Linked DNA regions of Homo sapiens: regions 1, 3 and 4 are each linked to region 2. Evidence: promoter capture Hi-C in 16 types of primary human blood cells and fetal thymus (Javierre and others, 2016). All regions are on one chromosome and are shown on one strand. The core of a region is centred on a gene start or on the middle of the fragment in contact, and the rest is flanking DNA. Distances in the headings are between cores, read along the strand shown. Region 1 overlaps ENPEP (glutamyl aminopeptidase). Region 2 holds the start of SEC24B (SEC24 homolog B, COPII component). Region 3 overlaps HADH (hydroxyacyl-CoA dehydrogenase). Region 4 overlaps HADH (hydroxyacyl-CoA dehydrogenase).

The links. The method cuts DNA at HindIII sites, captures the fragments that hold promoters and counts their contacts. A CHiCAGO score of 5 or more calls a contact.
Region 1: a fragment that was not itself captured here is called in contact with the fragment with the promoter of SEC24B in region 2 in 1 of 17 cell types (monocytes); the score reaches 7.9 in monocytes.
Region 3: a fragment that was not itself captured here is called in contact with the fragment with the promoter of SEC24B in region 2 in 1 of 17 cell types (fetal thymus); the score reaches 6.8 in fetal thymus.
Region 4: a contact is called between a fragment that was not itself captured here and the fragment with the promoter of SEC24B in region 2, in 1 of 17 cell types (fetal thymus). The highest score is 5.4, in fetal thymus.

What each region holds. Positions count from the first base shown.
Region 1 is chr4:110,492,755-110,498,469 of GRCh38, reverse strand. All of the region lies in intron 3 of ENPEP (glutamyl aminopeptidase), which reads right to left. Among named protein-coding and RNA genes, the nearest start is that of ENPEP, 19 kb to the right of the region's middle. The HindIII fragment of the contact is 8,500 bases long and covers 1-5,680 here.
Region 2 is chr4:109,429,987-109,435,389 of GRCh38, reverse strand. It overlaps SEC24B (SEC24 homolog B, COPII component), which reads right to left and starts at 1,575. Exons shown (of 24, transcript NM_006323.5): 1 at 1,388-1,575. The coding sequence starts at 1,520. SEC24B-AS1 (SEC24B antisense RNA 1) reads left to right here and starts at 1,573. Exons shown (of 3, transcript NR_039978.1): 1 at 1,573-1,656; 2 at 3,644-3,698; 3 at 4,610-5,403. RefSeq lists enhancers at 596-745, 822-1,681 and silencers at 563-857, 1,236-1,505, 1,556-1,945. The HindIII fragment of the contact is 940 bases long and covers 728-1,667 here.
Region 3 is chr4:108,015,251-108,020,816 of GRCh38, reverse strand. HADH (hydroxyacyl-CoA dehydrogenase) reads right to left here. Exons shown (of 8, transcript NM_005327.7): 4 at 1,151-1,277. Among named protein-coding and RNA genes, the nearest start is that of HADH, 28 kb to the right of the region's middle. The HindIII fragment of the contact is 222 bases long and covers 1,784-2,005 here.
Region 4 is chr4:107,997,925-108,003,496 of GRCh38, reverse strand. All of the region lies in intron 1 of HADH (hydroxyacyl-CoA dehydrogenase), which reads right to left. Among named protein-coding and RNA genes, the nearest start is that of HADH, 11 kb to the right of the region's middle. The HindIII fragment of the contact is 2,945 bases long and covers 589-3,533 here.

The DNA of each region.
Region 1 (5,715 bases), core at 181-2,680, 1.1 Mb before region 2:
TATATATATTTATAGATGATAAATTATATGGTCACTCTACTTATTGACAGCAGCCTGACTTTTCACTGCTGATCATCCCGCAGAAGTAGCACCATTTACCTCTTGAGGTTTTTTTTGCAAGGTCTCATCTGAGCTGTTCCAAAGAGCCACATCATTTTAAATGACGAGCATGCTTAAAGGATCCCCCAAAAACAAGCTGAGATCCTTGGCACTCAGGGCTAGTAACACCAAGAAAGACCTGAAAACACACTTGGGTGGCACAGGGCAGTGGTGACTGTATCTGGTGCACATCTTAATTGAAGTACAGATATCAGCATATTTCACTCTCTTCAGGGTTTAGCATCCTCCAGTGCACATAGTAGATGCTCAATAAAAATGTACACAATAATCAGTTTGAAGAAACTGTTTCATTATCAATACTGAGGTAGCCAGGATGAGAAAGAGAAAATAAATCTATATTGTTTTTAAATATATAAATGCATATTTAAGGTACATAGCTGGTATTACTGAACATGCCATTAATGTGTTAAATTTTATAAAGTTTATGTTCTTTTAAATATTCTTCCAGTAGTAGGTGGAAAGTTAGCAGAGGAGGGTACTTAGTTGAAAGGAATAGTGATACATCAGTTTTTTTCTTTTTAAGTTCTGCCTTATCAATGTGATATATTCTTTCTAAATTTTAGTTTGCTCCTTCCTCATAGATAAATTAGTATGAATATGCAAAACCTTGGTTTGAAGTTTAGGTGAAAAAACACCTTTTTTTCCGCTGTAGCTATGCTGGTTCAAAACATGTTCGGACTCTGAGTCGGAACTCACCTGCTATGAATTGCTGTTTAAGAAGAAACTCAGCACGGCCATTAGGTTACACAAAGCATTTATTGGCCACTTACTTTCCATTTAAGTTAAAATTTAAGTTGTCTGATGCTTAGTGATTATTACTGCAGTATAATTTTTAAGAAATTAAAAAATGAACATTAAAAAATCTAAATTACCCCATAAAATCTTACATTATTTTTATTATTTTGTTTATATTTTTGTAAATTTAAATAAAAAATAAGAATCATTAGCAATCCTCCGTGGCTTACTAAATTAAACAGTTTCCTTCAAGGGAGATTAATAACCTTCCATTTAAAGATAACCCTTCCAGTAAAGAAATTAATTAAAAAAAACTAATTAAAATGTTCTAGAAATCAAATTCATTCTGAAAACTTAGCAAAGCCACAGCCAAAATAAGTTTTTAAAATAATGAAATGACCATATGTCAAAAATAATTCTGAGGAAAACAGAAAAATCACCTTTAGAACACCACAATAACAGTTGTTGTGGACATCCACTGGGGAATGCTACAATAAGTGGTCAAAACCTGAAGAACTAACAGGATATTCACATAGCCTTTAATTATCACTCCCTAAATATTTATTAATCACTGTGGTGGTCATAATGTATATCCATAAATTCTTTGTGACTCCTCCCTCCAGGAAGTAGAGCTTAACTCTCTTCCCCTTGGGTGTGGACTGCATTTAGCGATTGCTTCTAAAAAACAGAAGATTGGAATAAAAAACTAGTAAACTGAAGCAGAGAAACCTAGCAGACACCATCTCAACCAAGTGATCAAAGTTAGCATCACCAGGAATAAGTCATGAGGATGTCATGTACCCCCTGATAGGATGTGATGAAAAGGACCCTTCACCTCTGTGGTATTCTCCAAAATCCAAAGCCTCAGTCTAATCTTGAGGAAACATCACACAAACCCAAACTGAGAAACTTTCTACGAAATACCTGAACAGTACTCTTAAAAAGTGTCAGGATCATAAAAAAGAAAAAAACTGAGAAATGTCATATATCAGAATGAATTAAGGAGACAGCATTGCTAAGTATAATGTAGATGTATCATCTATTGGATTTTGGAATAGAAAAGGCACATTAGTGAAAAAACTGGTGAAATCCAAGTAAAGACTGTTGTTTAGTTAATAGTATTGTATTACATTGATTTCTTAGATTTGACGAATGTTTGATAAATGGTTATATAAGATATTAACATTAAGGGAAGGTTACATGGAGACTCTTGTGTCTTTGCAACTCTCTGTAAATCTAAAATTATTTCAAAATAAGAAGTTTAAAAATATATCTCTGAGCATTAAAGCAATGAAACTTAAAAAATAAGATTATTTCTATGAAGAGAAATACATAAATCAAAGTCTATGGCACAAAACCTAAAACTGTTATAAAGATAGGCTGTTTTTAAAAATCCATGGCATATATACATACATACTCTGCCTTCAGCCTATCTTTCTAATCCAGGCAAACAACGGACTAAGATGGAAGCAAGTAAGAAGACACAGACAGTAGGAAGAACCCATTCACAGAGAGAATCCTAGATGCAATTATTCAGCGATCATCCTGTAAGATTTTTGGAAGAAAGTACAACATAATCCCTTCTACTGATATATTAGAATTAATATGGTCATAGTACAAACCTAATTAAATGGATAATATCTTCCACCAGCATTCCCTTAGTGAATAATTCCTCCCAGCTTCCCCCTCTGTTCAGGAAAGCCAAGGAAAACTTGACTAGAGTTGAAATAATCTCCAACAAGGTAATTTCTTGTTTTTGCACATACTTCTTTATAAAATACAGATGCCAAATGCCCCCAAAGAAATTCAAGGGCTCCTGAGATTTTTGTTTCTCAGGAACGAAATCACTCGTGCCATTTATTATTTATTTACTTATTTATTTATGTATACTTTTGAGACCGAGTCTTGCTCTGTCACCCAGGCTGGAGTGCAGTGGCACCATCTCGGCTCACCGCAACCTCTGCCTCCTGGGTTCAAGCGATTCTCCTGCCTGAGCCTCCCGAGTAGCTGGGATTACAGGCACACACCATCACGCCCGGCTGATTTTTGTATTTTTAGTAGAGACAGGGTTTCACCATTTTGGCCAGGCTGTTCTCAAACTCCTGACCTCAAGTAATCTGCACACCTCAGCCTCCCAAAGTGCTGGGATTATAGGCATGAGCCACCGCGCCCGGCCACCATTGCCATTTAACTCGTCCTGAATTTGATTCCTTAAAGAATCATGCAGAGCGAAAGCATTCTGGGAAAGTTACTGTAGGTCAACTGTACCTCAGAAAGCAACACAAACCTAACAACTTCAAATGATTTTATATATACTAATACGGGGGATTTTCCTTTTTCCTACTTTGCGTTTTCCAAATTTTCAATAATGTACATGAATTAAACCTATAATTTTAAAAACTCAAAAATATATTTATAATGTACATTGTTCTTGGTTTGAAAATGAATTGCAATAAATTCCAATGGGGAACTTTGTGCTGAACTCTCATGTTCATGACATGCTTATTGGGGATATTGTTTCCTCTCTGATGACTCCTGCAGGAACAATAGGATTACATTTTTTTTAAACAATAACTCAACAGTTTGTTCACATAACTAAAAAGTCATATAATCTCTCTATACTATGCACAGTTCAGGGTGTGTCCACTTGTTTGTTTTTCTGGGGTGAAATTCAGTGATTTCATTTACTTTAAAACCCTAATCAATCAACTAAACCTGAAGAAGACCTCAGGAGTAGATTTCTTGCAGAATTGTAAAAAATTCCTTCCATCAGTGGCTGGCTTCAATTGTTGCTAAACTATTCTAAGTAACTCTTCATGTTACTCTGTTTAGCATTGAATCAAAATGCAATGCAATTAATTTAAAAAGAAAATATGAAGAGTGAAAAGACTTCTGAGCTACCTCCAAAACCAATTTAATTTTTCTCATGAGCGACAAGGATATTTTAAACATAATGAATGGCTCAACTCTAAAGTCTGCTGTACTCTCTCCAACTAAACTATTAAGAATGCAGGCATTGATTCTGTGTTTATTGATATAAAGGAACTATTGTCAGAGAGGTGAATATACCCAAGCAAGTTGAATCAGGGCATTATAGATTCTTAGATTGCATAGTATAATCTGATTATGAATAGCAGGTGGTTAATGTACCAGAATAATACTGTCAGAAGAAGAATGGATAAGAATAGTCACCTATTAATGGTGTACATAACAAATACATGGCTTCATTTTTTATTTTTGTTTTTTACTAAAAAAGTAATAAAGGACTTTGGGTACAGGTGGTACAGTAAAGGGATGCTTTGATGCACCCCACTAATCCTAATACTCAGAAATTAGTGATAAAATATAAAAATGGGAACAAGACATAAGGATCGGAAGCTATAAGCATATTGAGCTCCAGTTTTGGAAGGAATGGGTCGGAAACAGGTTCCTGGGGATCAGACCCAAGCCATGCTTTGGAAATCACGTTCTAAAACTCTGACTACTATTTCTGATCGTTTTCTCGTCACTTTTTGGTTTTTCTTTTATGACTATCATATTCTTGAATTTTTGAATACATTAATTAAAGGTTGTGTGTGTGCATGTTTAATTTTGTTATGACTTTTTCGGGATTCTCTTTTGTTTCTCCAGTTATCACTATTTACTCCCACGGTGTTTCTATTTGTCTTGGATGTTTTTCTTTTATGTTACTTGTTTTCCTCATATACCTGGTTATTCTTAGCTTGTCTGTTAAGTTCTAAGAATGTAGGACTCTGAGGCTGGTGTGAGTTTCCTCTGATGTTACATTTCAATAGATTTAAGTAGGTTGGTTTTTCTGTAACTCTCTGGAGTGGGAAATCATACCAGGAGCAGTTTGTACTTGGGTGGGTGTCAACTATTAGATTTCAACTTACAGTAAGTGGGTAGGGAGCCAGGAGGGGAACCTCCCAAATGCCAAAGAGGAGGAACTCACTGTGGAGCATTTGCATTCACACTAGATGCCTTAAATTTCTCCCATTAGGTTCTGTTCAACTTTTAAAGGAAACGGCCCCACTGTTTTTTCAGGAGGGGAAACTCTGGCTGCCTGTCTTCTATGGAAGGGTTGGAGGAAGGGGAAAGTGGCATATCTCATTTTCTTGTAATTTTTCTGGCTCAGAGCCTCTGAGAAGTTTCAAAAGGGAATTTGGCTTCTGTTGATCTCTTATAAAATAGATGATTGGACAGTAATGTATTAAAACAATATTATGTTTGTTTCCCTCCCAAATGATGGAATGCATCACTTATTTAAAACAAAATGTTATGCTCTTAGTTTTCATAGAAGAACCATTTAAGAAATAATTACCACCTACAGGACATTTTGGGATCTTTTGCAAAACTGTATTTTTTCATTATATCACTTCAAATCCTTTATATAAAATCCATCCTAAGAACCCAGCTAACTAACTGGTACAGGCTCTAGTGATTTACCTAGTTAGTATAATATTACAAGTAAATGTCCTTGGTCAGAGGACCTGGTGATAGAGTCATATTGGAAATTCAAGCTCACTGTCACTATTAGAAAATAACTCCAAGTACTATGTCCTCTGCTGATTGGTTAAATGCATTGTTCTTACCTATGAGACTTTGTCATCTTTAGTACAATTGCTTAGCCTTTCTGTTTCCTCTTGGTATTTCTACCTCAAATAGAAAAATTTGCTCAGAATGTAATAATAATTTTTAAAACTTGGTATGGGAAACACCTGCACATGATGAAAGACAGTCATGCAATTGAATTGTCAATGATGAAGAAAGCAGCTTCAGATGAAAATTGCATGTTTGTTATGAGACGGAAAGAAAAAACCAAGCTTGACTAATGTTCTCACCTCTATATTAAGCAAGAGG
Region 2 (5,403 bases), core at 326-2,825:
AACAAAAACAAGAACTTATATTAAGGTTACAAGAACAAACACTGCTCACAAATAGTATTTTTACATTTGTTCAGAACAGGTTTATATCCAAAAGCGATTATAGTAAACAATGACTACTGAGAGTACAGCATGTAATACTGATAGGTAAGGCTGATCCAAAGAATATTAAGGCTAAAGTATCACTCAACTTCTGATCCTCAGGACAAACGATACACTTCATGTTTGAAAAGCATCAGTTGTAAAACTTAGATGTTGATTAAACTAATTCATAAAGTCCAGCAGATTTTCATTAGGAAATTAGATAAAACAGGTCAATCATCTGGAGAGTACTAATGCAGTTTGGTTCTCGTACCAACACAGGACAGAGGTATTTTTCTAAATTCAGTCAATTACTTTCCAAGGTTCTCATCTGACATACTAAGAAGTCTGTAAGGAGAATTCCTCCACCCTTGGCCCCTATCCGCGAACATTCCAAATCTCAGCATTAGGGAATGCATATCCATCATTTTGCAGCCTACTAAAAGCCCACGACCTTAATATGAAAGCGGCTTTCGTGCTGCATTTGGCTGCTGCCTGTATGAAGGCCCTGCCTCAAAGCAGGGCCAACTCTGGCACGTTTTTTCATCTCTGAAAGTGGAGCTAGGAAAAACACCCAGATCTAAAGATGTTCGTTTAAATCCGTTTACATCTGCTCCCTTTCAAACACTACAAGCAAACTCCAAAAGCTTGAGCAGCAGCCGCAGCGGCAATGACAGTTCTTGAGGCCGAACTGGGTCAGGGTTACAGTTACACTTATATAGCATATTTACACCCTTTTGTCTACAAACTTGAGTGCAAACTTAAGTTTCCTCAAGGCAGCGTGTTCGCTGGGCCTCGGGAACCGAAGCAATTTTCCTGAGACAGGAAGGGCACAATCCACCCTGCTGGGTGGCTGCACCAGCCTTCTCCGGACCACGCACTCAGCGGCCTCGGCTTCTGGCCAGCTCTCGCAGCCAAGGGGTCGCTCGGGGCAACTCGCCCGCGTCCAGGCTAGGTAACTGGGTTTTACTACGTGGGCTCCCAGCTTTTCAGTCGCCCCTACTCGCCCGAGGCCGTTTCGGGCCTGGGGTCGCATTACATAAACAGCCACGGCCCCAGCTTTCCCAGGCCGGCCCCCGCCCCCACGCCAGGGGCGTCCCACCCCCGCGCGCCCCGCGCCGTGCCTTCCCTGCCCCCTACCCGCACCCAACCCGGACCCCGCGGCCTCCGCACCGCGCCCGCTCCCGTCCCTCGGGCCGGGCCTGGCCCCGAACGCCCTTCCCGGCCCGGCCCGCCCCGCCCCGATGTGGCCGTGCAGGCCGCCCAGCCGGTGCTAGGCCCCGCGCTCCGCCCGGGCCGCCCGCCTCACCGTTCTGCTGGTGCGGCGCCGGGCCCGCACCCGGGCCCGCGGGCGCTGCGGCTCCTGAGACGGCCGCTCCGCCGAACTTGGGCGGGATCCGGGCGCTGGCGGCCGGGTGAGAGGACCCGGCGGGGGCCGACATGACGGCGCTGGTGGCGACGGCGGCTCCGCTTCAGGGAGGTGGGCGGAGGGAAGGGAAGGCGGGGCCGGAGAGGAGAGAGGAAGAGGAAGGAACGCGCCTGGCGTCACTGAGGGTGTCACCCGGGACCGCGGCTCAGGTACCCAAGCTTCTCCGCGAGTCCAGCGCTGCCACTCGGCGGCCGCCGCGGGCGCGGGGATCCTGGGTCGCTCCGCCTTGACCCACGCGCCCCACGCCCCGGGACTTACACCTGGGGTCGCTCCCCGCACGCGCGGGCCTCGCGCCGGTGCCGCCGCAGCGCCCCCTGCAGGCCGGAGCCGAGCTGGCCCAGGCCTGAGTCTGGCCCGGGGTTCCGTGGCCCCAGTGCCGGCCCCGCGGCTGCTGCTCCGGCCCGGCCAGGTGCCTTCGTGTTGAGGCGAAAGGACTGGGCCTCAGTGGGTGAAGGGACCGGGTGGCCCGCTTCCACCTAGGGCAGAGGCTGGATCGGCCGCGGCGAGGCTGGGCCCAGCATTACTGGGAGGGGAACTTGAGAGCCGCGGGTTGATGTTCGGAGCTCAGGCGACGACTGACCACCCACCCTTCCTCGAAGAGGAACAATGGCTTGGGTTTGGTTTTTAATTTTTGATTCCCCCACCTCCCCTTTCTTGATTCCAAAGGAAATATAGCATTCAAGCGCCATGTCTGTTGGGAATATATAATTCCTTGGCAAAGAAAGAGGAAACATTTCTCTGATAAACACAAGAATCTCAGTAAGAATTGCATTATTGAGAACTTTTCCCACTGATAAAGTAGGGAAGAGGAAGGGGAAAATAGGGTAAGGGAATGCTGGAAGACAAACTTTAAACTTTATCTCCTTTTTTTTTTTTTTTTTTGTCGATTGTTGGTGCATCCTGTTGGTGTTCCGAGAAGTTGTGGCTCAGCTTGCTTTGTCTACATTAGTGGAATCTTTAAGTCTTTCTGGTCTGTCTCAGCATACTCACTGGCAGGCCCTAGACTACATTACCCAAGTCATTTTGCCGTCTTGGAATCCTGAGTATGTCATCACTCTGTATTGGAGATGAGATTGCTCAGAAACACTGAATTCAGAATGGGATCTAGCAAGATGGTATTTCTGGAGCAATAAGTCATTTACTGAATGATTATGCAAAGCATAAATTGCATTGTAGTCCTAGAATAATACAAAGCTTCCCTTTAGTTGTTGCCGTAAATTAATAACTGGCATTTTAATGCACTAAATGAATTTTAGTAGTTAGATTTATATCTTTGACTTCTAGGAATTTCAACTACATTAGAGTTCATATACACAAAAGGGGCAAGCCCTTTTCCACAGCATTTCCAGCTTCTCCACAGAAACCTAGCCCCACATGAGCAAAAGATCACACTCTGTGCTTCATCAAAGAGATTACACAATTACAGATTCCAGCATCTCCCAGGAGTCCTTTGAATTTGGATTAAGGTCTATAATTACGTGGGTAAGGGAATAACTAGGTAATTGGCTTTCTGCACCTGGAATGTATTCTCCTGGGTATAAGAGGCTCCTTTTAATCAGAAGTATATGGGATGAAAGTGAACCCTGTCTCTTAAGGGGAGACTCCTTAAGAGGAGGATTGGGGCCCTGTGTTTTAATAGATCTTCTCCACAATCTTTAATACCTAAGCTCCTTCCCCTTGTCCACTAATTTGCTGTAGAATTTTTCTAGCATGTTTATGATGGTGTTCAGGGCACACTACCCCAAAATATAACACCTTGGCATATTGAATGTTTTAAGCTGATGGAATTTGAGAAATGGCAGGTGTGAGGACTCTGACCTTCCCATGAAGCAGGTCATAAGACCCTCATGTGAGAGATGCCCTCTCTATACCTGGAGAAAAGAAGCAGTCTTATTTGTGAAGACAGAGAGACGCCAAGAGGAATCTAAATGAATAGGCCTTGGTAGGTTTCCCCCAGTTTACTGCCCTTAGCCCATCTTTTTGTCTTATCACAGTTTTCCATAACAGTCTACTCTTCATCAAGCTTGGTATAAAACGCTCAGGTTTCTTCAGGTCTTCGTTTCCTTATGAAGGCTCTGGTGCCATGTAAAACTTACATTAAATATCATACATTCATATGCCTTTCTTTTGTTACAGGAACCCCAGACGCACGGGCCTTGTGCTGTCGCTGCCGTGGCACCCCTTCTAGAAGGTAGATATTTTTCCTCCTGACAAACACTACAACCTTTATGAAAATATTTCACTCTTTTGCTTTAATTTCCATTACTACTATAAGTGAAAAAAGGATGAAGAATTGAATGAATAGGATTGAACCATCTACTAGGCACTGTGCTTGTAAATCTAGATATGTATTTTTTTCTATTTAATCCTAACAATAACTCCATGGGATATTTTTCTTATCCCTATTTTATCTGTGAAGAAACTAATGTTTATAGAGCTGAAGTAATCTTAGTAAAAATCATGAACCTGGAATTAGCAGAACCAGCGGTCAAACCAAGGATTATTTAGCTCCAGACCATTGCTTTACTATAAACTATACTGGGTTAATTTACATTTTTCTTCATAAAGCTATGCTAGTTATGATTTACTGTCTTGCTGTCAAAAGATTTTCAGTTTTTCATATTTAGAATTTGTTCCAGTGTACTCTACAATGGTAGATCTCAGAGTTTTTGAAATGCAGATTTGTGGGCCCAAACCCTGGACCGTATACTGATTCAGAAGTGGTGGAGATAGGGCCCTACAGCAAGCTCTCCAGGCAATTCTGATGCATGGGGAAGTTTGAGGACCACTGCTTTTGAATAGCAGAGTTAAGCTGAATTGGTTCATTCTCTTACTTTGGAAGATGATGGTCCTTTCTTTCAGGACATCTCTTCAATCTTTTACAGACCAATAAAAGTGATATTTTGTAGATTTGTGATTACAGTGTCACAAATGCCAATTATGATGTTTCCTATGTCAACTCAGATTCTCTGAGGTATAGTGTTGATGCAGATGCTGAGGCCAAGTCTGTTCAGTGAGAAAGAGTGGGTAATTGAATTAATCTCTGCTGCATATATGGAAGTGAAATAATACGTGTGTTACTATTTGTCATCCCCAACTTAGGACTCTATTCTCTATAACAGAAGTGGGAGCCTTGGACAACTGAACGCCTATCTCTAGCTCAAGAAATGTCAGCTCTTTTTTTTTTTTTGAGACTGTCACCCAGTCGGGAGTACAGTGGCGCCATCTTGGCTCTCTGTAACCTCCACCTCCTGGGTTCAAGCGATTCTCCTGCCTCAGCCTCCTGAGTAGCTGGGGCTACAGGTATGCACCATCACTCCTGGCTAATTGTTGTATTTTTAGTAGATAATGGGGTTTCACCATGTTGGCCAGGGTGGTCTCAAACTCCTGACCTCAGGTGATCTGCCTGCCTCGGCCTCCCAAAGTGCTGGGATTACAGACGTGAGCCACCATGCCCAGCCAAGAAATGTCAATTCTTTATCGTAGCCTGGCTTTCCATATTTCTCACTAGGGTTTTTATTCTCTAGTTTGTAAATCACATTTGGCGTTTGTAGATCACTCCTTCCCTTTTAGTGGCATTCTCTATTAGGTGTCCATCTCCCAATATGAAGAAACAGTTTTCTGCTTTTTCCTCCTTTATCTGATCCATTTACAGATTTATTACATTTATAATAGGCTAGGTATTGGGGATACAAAAATGAATAAGATATGGTCTGTTTTCAAAGGTATGCAGAAACTTTTCTATATATTCCTACTGACTTGTATTTGTATTTCTTGAATTAAAAACAATCCTGGCTGTGTTTTTTTTTTTTTTTTTTTGCTCTTAGTGAATCTTTGTTTCTTCTTTTCATTATGGCATTCCAGTTGAGTTTCACCACGCATTATCATGAGAATAA
Region 3 (5,566 bases), core at 645-3,144, 1.4 Mb after region 2:
GCCAGTGTGTGTAGGTTTGCCTGGCCCCACATCACCCACATGGCAGCATCAGCGTCCCCCACACTTCGCAGGGCAATAACTCCTCAACCTCAGAACAAATGCTACTTTAATAGCGGCTGCTCCTCAGACCCTGTAATTAGGACCCTGTAAAAGGCAAGTTGTCCCATTTCAGGTGCAAATTGCCTACTGTGACTCCAACTCCAACATATTGGAGTCTCCAAGCATTCCAAACAGGATGCTGGGGAAGCCCTCCCTGCCTCCCCGCTCCACCTTCCAGGTTTATGGTCAGGAGGCTCAAGGCTATCAGAAGCTGGTTTTATTTTTTTACTTTTAGGGTTTTTTTATTCGATATAGGATCTTGCTCTGTCATCCAGGCTGGAGTGCAGTGGTGCAATCACAGCTCACTGCAGCCTCAACCTCCCAGGCTCAATCAATCCTCCCACTTCAGCCTTCCAAGTACTGGAGACTACATGCGTGCACCAAAACCCCTGGCTGATTTTTTATTTTTTGTAGAAATGGGGTCTTGCCATGTTGCCTAGGCTGTTCTTGAACCCCTGGGTCTCAAGCAATCCACTAACTTCCACCTCCAAAAGTTCTAGGATTACAGGCATGAGCCGCCGCACCCAATGGGAGCTGGTTTTAATAGCTCTGATCACAATGCACAGGAGATGTACCTCATCTGGGGACAACGCTAAGGCACCATTACATGGGGTCAGAATTAACCCCAGGAACTGTGGACAAGCTAGTATAGTGTATCTAATGAGAACTGCATTTACAGCATGGGCAAGCTGACCTCGACGAGATAATATGAACACATGTAGCTGCCCTCTGTGTGGTCCCATCCAGCCCACGGTTTCTAGTGCTGCCTTCCCATTCTGATGCCTCTCAGCACTGCCCATCAGCTCTGGCACAAATAAGTAAATGACATTCCACAAAGTTAACAGCCTTTCTGGATATCACTAAGCAAGACACAGGGCTGTGAAGAAACAAAGCATAGAAGCCCTCCTAGATATGAGGCTCAGGGACAACCTTCTACCCTCAGGTTAAAACCCATCCTAGGCAACTGGTGGCAGGGCTGGTGTAACACAGAAAAGCAGGACTGAGAGAGCTGGCAGAGCGGGCAGACACACACAAGCTGACACCCACTGACCTCCACAAGTTTCATGACAGGCACTGGGTTGAAGAAATGGAGGCCAGCGAATCGGTCTTGTCTGGTGGTGGCATTAGCTATGCTTGTAATCTGCAAGGAGGAAGTGTTGCTGGCAAAGATTGTATGTCTGTGAAGAGAAAATATAGTGGGAGTATCAGAGTGAATCTCTTCTTTCAAAACAGCATGACTCTTGGATGCAATGCACAAGGTGACTGCTTACTGCCACATCTGTTGTCCTGACCCATTGGGGGAATGAGGGAGAAGACACATCTTCATATAAGAGGCTGAAATCAAGTGACTTCAGCTTTTTAAAAATTTTTAAATTTGAAATAAAATTGGAATTTCCTGTTCCGAAGAGGTATTTAACCTTCACCAATCCTTCCTTGATTTTCCAGAACAAAATTTCCCCTACCTACTTGTATTAGTTAACTTCCAAGGTATGTGAGATAACAAGAGGTGGCTAATTGATCAAGCTACTTAACCAACCCCAGTCACAAACGAAACTCAGTGATCAAAAAATAATGAAAGAAAGACACCTAAAAGCAACAAAATTCTAAATGAACACATAAATCCTCAATCAGAAACATATGATAATAAACGTGAATTAAGATATTTTCCCTGAAGTGAAAAGCTTTATTTTTCAATTGAATGGGAATTAAAATGAAAACAAGAACACCAACATGGTTCAAAAAAATTTTAAGGTTACATGGGTAGATATGGGGAAAAGAGGATATAGGCATATGCATATATAAGACATTAACTTATTCATTAAAAAAAATCCATACTGACTTAAACCAAATTTAGTTCTTTAAGGCCACAGTAAAGTGGCGTGCCAAAAGCATGAGAGGAAAAGCTTTAAACAGGTTGACTTCCAGGCTTTCCTGCAGCGCCACCTTGCGGATAAAAACATACAAACAGGCCTGGTGCTGATTCCAACCAAGATGGACTGTAACAGGGCAGGAAAGGAAAGGATCCCTTACTGACCAGGCTTGGGGGTTTCTGCTTACCTAACAGGCAATACTATAATCTGCTCAAATCAGGGGCGGGTGGGAGGAGAGGAGGAAGAGAAGGGAGAAGAAACCAGTTATTTGGAAAGGAGGGAAAAGAGGTAAAAGGCGAGACCAGTGTGGGTAGGCAGCGGAGAGCCTTCTCTTTCCAGGTATGAGCACATCCACCTTCTCCAACAGCTTCCAAGGTAGGCCATTTAAATGCCAGGGTTTCCTTTTTAAAAAAAAAATGACATTGTTTTAAGGTCTTAAAATTTCAGTTTTCAAAGTTTCTTGCTTTTGGTCATTGGGGAAAATAATATAAACTATTCCCCATTACAGAAGGTAATGAAAAAAAGATCCTCTTCCAATAACAATGTGTGTGGCCAACACAAGCACTGTTCAACCACACAACCTGCACCACAAGCACCTGGAACCACAAAAACAGAGCAGGGACAGCCTGGGCCCAAGGCTGTGCCAGCTGTGGCTCCACACTCCCGTTAAGAAAAGAAAGTGTTATTTTAAAGATTAGTATTACAATCGTAATACCCCTTTTTGTAGAATGTTTGAAGGGCCATTCACCTGCAAAAAGGGGAAACTTGGGCACATTTGGTAAAATAAAGTGACATCAGAGCCCAGTTCCAGGTATCACCAGTCCAGGGCACTCTGGCACATTTTATCAGAAGGAGGAAATGATCTCTCCCCAGCAGACCTCTGCTTCTGCCTCTCCCAACAGGGTCAGGCTGACTTTGTTCCTAAAAGTCTCACACTGTCTTCAGAGAATACTAAACACATAGGACAGTCTTTTCATCCACAAACAAAATGTACTCTGGGCTGGGCACGGTGGCTCACACTTGTAATACCAGCACTTTAGGAGGCCGAGGCAGGTGGATCACTTGAAGTCAGGAGTTCGAGACGAGCCTGGCCAACATGCCCCGTCTCTACTAAAAATACAAAAATTAGCTGGGCATGGTAGCGCATGCCTGTAATCCCAGCCACTAGGGAGGCTGAGGCAGGAGAATTGCTTGAACCTGGGGGGCAGAGGTTTCAGTGAGCTTAAGATCATGCCACTGCACTCCAGCCTGGGCGACAGAGCGAGACTCCGTCTCAAAAAAAAAAAAAAAGTACTCTTACATGTTCCTGGAAACACTTGTCTTGAACCATCTTTTGTTTTTTTCATTCGGACACTCAGGTACCAAAAAAACTACTTTTCTCTTAAATGTTCTAAAAGAAAATCGACAACACAAGCACAGTGATTATTAGCAATGGCCCCAGACCCTAGTATAAAGAAGACAAGAGGGTTGGTGGGGATGGCAAAGGATTCAAGAGTCTGTACTTTGTCTAAAGGGGAAAGTCAGGACTTCGATCTGGCTGCCTGTGCGTCTGGTCATACTTTTCATTTGTGTGTCTTAGGCTGCTGCTAGAGAAGTCATGTTCTCTCCAGGATGCAACTGTTTCATCAGGGCTTCCAACCCGAAATGTATCACTTGACTATATTTTCTTCTCCCATTATAGGATCGAACTGTAAAATTTGTCAGTAAAGTACCTCTCAATACGGCTGCTTAAAAATTGTAGCAAGCATTCAATAATGGTGGTGATCTAAAACAAAAACAAACAGTGCCAAGAAAGGTGGAGAAGGTCAGCAGCAAAGTCACATCTTTGGTATGACTATGGGTCATGCCTTCTTTTCACACCTCATATCTGTTTTGCATCAATTCAGGTTAAAGAGCCTAGTGTAGTGCCTGATACACAGCAGGCACTCAGGAAATGTGAGCTAAATGAAATGAGTTTCCTAAACAACTCTGTACAATAGGTACCAGTGCTGCTGCTCCTATTTTACAAATGGGGGAAGCTAGTCTTAGAGAGTTAGAGCCAGAAAGGTCTAGGAAATTATTTACCCCAATCACCTCAACTTGCATTACAGATGACGAAACTGAGGACCTTTCCAAGGCTGGAGGTGGTGAGGGGGTCAGCACCAGGCCCAGGCCTCCTGACTTTCTCCAGTGATCCTTCTTCTGTACCAGACATGGACAATGGAGGGCAGTCAGGCCTTTCACTGTCACCAAGAGCGACCAATCTTTTCAATAAAGATCAAACTGCTTGACAAAACTCCCTTTTTTGGGGTGGCTGTTTATTATCCCAGAGGGCTCCCTGCTGGCCTGGGAGCCAGTCCCGGTACCACAAGTATATTCTGTTTTTGTCAGATGTCTCTGTAGCCTCTAGATGCCAGTGTGAAATGCACGAGGACACTGATTGGCAGTGATGGACAGATGACAGAAAGGCAAGTCTCTTCTCTTTGTCAGGGGCAGGGCCTCTCTGGCCACAAGGCCACCCATCTCTGAAGGTTAACATTCCGACAAGCTGGTATGCAAGTGACTCTCTTTAGCCACTGCCCACCGGAAGTGCCCTGAGAATTGCTTTTGTCATATAATCTTATTCTGCCATTCAATTCCAACCAAGAAGCATGAAAATATAGTCAAACAAGTCACTAGAAGAGCACTGATCAGTGGGTCAGGTGTCACACACTCGAAGGCTCTGGATCCCAAGGTACATTCTGCCAGGAAGAATTCCACCAGGAAGCCAGCCAGCTAAGAAGTCAATGCTCCTTTAACACTCCCAAGAGTACTTCGATTGAACCCAGATGAAGCTCAAAACAGGAAAGTCCTCTCTGTCTATAGGCATTCCCTTCAATTACACCATTCTGTTTGCTCCATCCAAAAAAGGAGGAAACACAGAACTGCTCTGAGGGTCCTTGGCAGACAGTTAAGGACACGTAGGGTACTCCTATGCCCGAGAGTGGAGCACAGAAGTACCCTACATGTCCTTAACTGTCTGCTGTCAGATGTCTCTGCAGCCTCTAGATGCCAGTGTGAAATGAACCAAGGAACGTCAGAGCAGCTTCTGGCATAGGAGTATCCATGACCTACACACTTCAAGAAACATAGGCCTGTCCCTGGATGGACCCCTCCATGTTACCATGGGTAATTCTACACGCATCTGGGACAAGGATCAGATCACAGCAGCCCAAGCTTCAGAAGCAAACTGGGAGTGGGAGGATGGAGAACAACGGAAACCATATTGGCTTTTCTTGAAATAGCTGTGGGGTAGGAGAGAGGGAGGTGGATAAACTTGGTCAAAGGATCCCTTCCTGGGAGAAGGCAATAAACAAGGAGGAAAGTTCAAGGCCCAGGGAGGGACCCCTCAGAATCTGTCAAGAATGTCCAGGGGTCATGAACAGATATTTTTCAAAAAAAGACACACTAGTGGTCAATAAACATATGAGAAAATGCTCAGCATCACTAATCAACAGAGAAATGGAAATTAAAACCACAATGAGTTTAGCACCTGATACCAGTCAGAATGGCTTTTATTAAAAAGTCAAAACCAACAGATGTTGGTGAGAATCTGGAGAAAGGGAACCCCTGCATGC
Region 4 (5,572 bases), core at 812-3,311, 1.4 Mb after region 2:
TATAGTTGGAGTTCCTGGGTTTAAAACCTGGCTATGATTTGAATGTGTCCTCTTCAAAAGTCAGGCACTGCCAATATGATAGTATTGAGAGGTGCGGCCTTTAAGAGGAGATTAGGCCATGAGGGCTCCTCCCTCATGAATGGGATTAAAGGTTTTTATAAAAGGACTTGACGGAGAAAGTTCGTCTAGCTTTCTTCCACCTTCTGCCATGTGCAGACAGCCTTCTTCCCCCAGCAAGACACAACGAGTAGGTCTGCACCAGACACCAAAGCTGGTACCTTGATCTTGGACTTCCCAGCCTCCAGAACTATGAGAAAATAAATTTCTGTTCTTTATAAATTACCCAGTCTCAGGTATTCTGTTAATAGCAGCAAAAAAAAAAAAAAAAAAAGACTAAGACACTGATTTAGCCACTCACTCACTGTGTGACTTTGGGTGAGCTACGAAGCCTCTATGTCTTGGTTTCCTGATCTGTCATAAAGGTTAGTAACAAAGGTACCCACCTCATAAAACTGTTGTGAGGATTAAAGAAGTTAATGTGTTTAACATGCTTAGACCAGTGCCAGGCATGTGAAGGTGCACAAAGCTTGTTAGCTGCTATTTTATTCACTACACTTGGTGCTTCTACTTTCTCCTGAGCCATTAAATTCCTAAACTCTAGTAATATGGCTTATTTCAGTCTGTTAGTGCTGCTATAACAAAATACCAAAGACTGGGTAATGTATAAACAACAGAGATCAAGATCATCAGCATGTTCAGTGTCTGGTGAGGGCTGTTCTCTGCTTCCAAGATGGTGCCTTGCTGCTGCATGCTCTGGAGCAAAGGTCCCCAACCTTTTTTGGCACCAGGAAGACATGGGAGACAATTTCACGGAAGACAATTTTTCTACCGTCTTGCAGGGAAGAGGGGATGGTTTAGGGATGATTCAAGTGCATTACATTGATTGTGCACTTTATTTCTATTATTATTACATTGTAATATATAATGAAATAATTATACATCTCACCACAATACAGAATTAGTGGGAGCTCTGAGCTTGTTCTGCTGCATCTAGATGGTGCCATGTGGGGATAATGGGAGACAGTGACAGATCATCAGGCATTAGATTCTCACAAGGACACGAAACCTAGATCCCTCACATGCACAGTTCACAATAGGATTCATGCTCCTATGAGAATCTAATGCAACTCTTGATCCAACAGGAGGCAGAGCTCAGGTAGCAATGCAAGTGATGGGGAGCAGCTGTAAATACAAATGAAGTCTTGCTAGCTGCTCACATCCTTCTATGTGGCCCGGTTCCTAATGGGCCACGGACCAGAAGTTGGGGACCCCTGCTCTGGAGGGGACGAGCACTGTGTCCTCATATGGCAGAAGGGAGAAGAGGCAAAGTTGGTCTCTCAAGCCCCTTTAAATGGCACTAAGCTGTTCATGAATACAGAACCCTCATGACCTAATCACCTCCTAAAGGCCTTATCTCTTAATACTGCTGCACTGGGGATTCAGCTTCGACATAAATTTTGGAGGGAACACAAACATTCCTATCAGAGTAGCTTCTTCCACCACCACTGCTGCATGAAATTAGATACAGTTGGTCCCCCCTTTATCTGTGGTTTTACTTTCTGTAGTTTCAGTTACCAACAGTCAACTATGGTCCAAAAATATTAAATGGGAAATTATAGAAATAAATGATGCATGTTTTAAATTGCATGTCATTCTGAGTAGTGTGATGCAATCTTGAATTGTCCTGTCTGGGAGGAGACTCATCCCTTGGTCCAGCATATCCACACTGTATACTACCCAATCCATTAGTCACTTGGTAGTTGACTGGGTTATCAGATCAAAAAGACATAGTATGTATAGGATTTGGTACTATCTGCAGTTTCACGCATCCACTGAGGGTCTAGGAATGTACTCCCTCCCCTCGTAAGGGGGGACTACTGTAACTTATCAATGGTCTACTAAATTGCTAAAGTCAATGCCTGTTCTTTGGCTTCATCTTCTACAACAGCTCTGTACATTGCCAATAAAAGTTTCATTTTTGAAACTCTTCAGTTTCTTATCTGTCTGTTCCTTTTAGCCATATTAATTGACCTCTCTTGATCTTCTAAGCCTATAAACAAGGACTTCCTTCAAGGTTCTGTTTCCAATATAATTTCCTTCTGAAATTCCAATCGTTCTCATACTTCCAACTGTGCCTGAAACCAAAATAATCTATCTAAGCTGCAGTTATCACCTTGACCCTAAAATCAATTCTCCTTGGCCTTCATTACTGGTACCACTATTCTGTAGGTCACCATTTTCTGGACAACACTTTTTCCTTAATCCCAACCATTAACTGCTGTCCAGAAATGTTCTATCCATTATTCAGGCCCATTTCAAATGCTACCCTCTCCATGAAGCCTTTTTCCAAATGAATGTACTTTCTATTTTGAAACCTCAGAACTAGATTTTTACTGCTCTTATTGTACTACTTTACACCAAAGTAAACTGTGTCATTTAGATCTCTGTCTAATCTCTGCTCTTAGATTTAAAATCCCTTAATGGCAGAAATTGATTTGGTCTTTGTAGCCCTTAGTACTTATCACATGCCTTGAATATGATAGCTGGTCAATAACTGCTAAATAACAAATGCTTTGGACGGTAGTAACCCGATTCTGTAGTCTTCCCCAGCCACACCACACGTCTCCCTCCTCTGTGCTATCTCATGGCTCTGTGCCCTTGTTCATGTGGTTTCCTCTGCCATACATGTCCGGCTCCCTCATTGCTGCTTCATGGACTTCAACTTACCCTTCATAATCTAACATGGACACCATCTCTCCTTTAGTGAAACTTCTCCCAACCCTTAGTAGAGGTAATCACTTCTTTTGTGCCTCTAGTGATTTGCAGATACAGCAGATCTTTTGTGCAGGAATTCAAATACTGAAAGAAAATAACTGGGTGTGGCGCTGGTGTGAACCACCAATGGCTGCTCAGTTATGTAATGGCAGCCCAGTCCCCAGGATGTGAACAGAACAGAGAAATAAAAACTTAACTGGTTATAGACTATTTCATGTCATAAGAATCTCACCGATTTCAGAATAAAAGTTATTAACCAACCAGAGCATAGGAGAAATCCCAGATGTGAAAGATGAATGATACACTTGAAATAGAAAAGCTAACCATACCAACCTTTTCTTCTTTAAAAAACTGATATGTAATAGCTGTACATACTTTTGGGGTACATGTGACATTTTGATACCTGCCTAAAATGTGTAATGATCAAATCAGGGTAACTGGGATATCCAACACCCTAAACACTTATCTTCTCTTTGCCAACACCAACTTTAGATGATGAAATCAAGATAGTACGGAGAGACCTTTCAAAAGTGCTGTTGCATCATCCACTTCAGGTTGTCAAGCTGCTGTTACCACAAATCCCAATATAGGGTGCTTAGGAACACTCCTATCTACAGGCCAATGAGAATTTCCAGTAAATACAAATTTCACAAACATACAGGCAGTACAATGTATACATATATCTTTTAACATAAGCTTTTTTAATGTCCCTTTTTCCTTAGCATAAGATATATATACACACTATATGTCATATCACATCTTAAGTATTTAAAAACCATACTTTAAGGTAAGGTATGTAAACTATTATAACTTTCATCTGTTTCAGATCAAATCCCAGATATGACAGGTAGGCTGTCTGTGCCTTCATTACAATTAGTTGTTCATACCTGTATTTCTTCCACTAGACAGTAGGTTTCTCAAGAGCAGCAATCACATCTTACTTTTTACCTGGCCTGATGTCTAGCACAAGGGAGATATTTCATACTCATGAAATGAACACTTGAATGACAGAGCTATTTTTTCATAAGTCTCAATTTGTAAATTATTTTAGAAATAAGTTCTCAAGAAGTCATGACTGGTTTTGTTGCTAGAAACCTTTATGATAAACTTTGTGTAAGCATCAAGTTACTTTAAAATTATGAGAAGTCACGTTATTAGTTTGAAAAGGATAGTAAGGAAAAAAAAGGAGCTAATAGCCAGAGTCTAGTCAATTACCAAGTGGAAAAAATGCCACTAAAGTCTCTCTCTGTTATTTTGGTGAGCAGATTAACTGCTTTCTAGTACTGGTGGTTGTGACGCTAGGTAAAAGGGGAAATGTAGGGCAGTTGCTATGCGTTGCCCAATGCAAGATCAATATTCTTTAAGTGGTATCCAGCCCTGTGATTTCAAAATGGATGTGTGCTTAATTCACTCCAACATGTGAATGTGTCTTATACCTTTCATCCAAGAGGCTGTAAGGCTAGAGGCATGCCAACCCTGTGTCTGTGCCTGTCTGTGAGGGGCACATGTGTGAATCAGGTCAGAGATGGCCACAGACACATAAGCTCACTGCTCTCCAACACAGGTTTCTTCTCTATCACAGAAGGGAAACTAACACACCTAGCTTCTCAACTACTTTAAGAGATTGGCGAAAGCATTTATTGTTCAGGCTTATTAGCTACAGATAATCAGGATCATCAATTTTGAGAGGAGGAAGACAACCCAGAGATCATTCAGTGTGGCGGCTCTCAAATGTTTTAGCCATGAACACCTTTTTCCATAAGAATGCATATTGAAGACCAATATGTACAACAAAGGTCAGAGAAGGAATCTTTACCAACCTTTCGGGAACCATGAAGGAGATTCATGAAATCTCTAATGTCCATCACAGTATAATGTTAAAAACCTCTGATCTCATACCCATTAGGATGGCTATTACTAAGAAAAAAAAACAAAAAAACAAAAAGAACACAACTATTGCCTCATGCATGACAGTCTTAACACCACCACAAGGCCAGTAGCTCCCTACATCTGCCTCTCAACTCCAGCCCTTCTCTTGGCCTCACCTTCTCCCCAACTTCACCTATTAACTAAGCCTAAAAATCAGCCGGGCGCGGTAGCTCACACTTGCAATCCCAGGACTTTGGGAGGCTAAGGCGGGCAGATCATGAGGTCGGGAGTTAGAGACCAGCCTGACCAACATGGTGAAACCCTGTCTCTACTAAAAATACAAAAATTAGCCAGGCATGGTGGTGCACGCCTGCAATGCCAGCTCCTCAGGAGGCTGAGGCAGAAGAATTGCTTGAACCTGGGAGGTGGACACTGCAGTGAGCCAAGATCACGCCTCTGCACTCTAGCCTGGGTGATAGAGAGAGACTCTGTCTCAAAACAAAACAAAACAATCATTTCCAGTTAGTAAGCCTACTCCCCAAGATCCTCTCAGCCCTAAGCTAGATGTCCCCCATATGCCCTGTAACATCCCTGCATCTGTGTACCACAGCACCTACCAAACTGTGTTATAGTAATCTGAACTCCTCTACTGTAGGCTCCTGACCAAATGTCATTCATCTTTGTACACTGAGAACCTAGACCCTGCCTGGCTGTGGCTGGCCCTCAGGGAATGTTGACTGAATAAAGACATTTGTTGGTAAAGTCAAGATGAGACCTGGTGGCTCTTTCCACTGCTGTAGCTGATGGCCTCTCCTGATAACGTAACCTCTTATTTAGAAAATAACTACAGAGAAACAAGTACAATTCA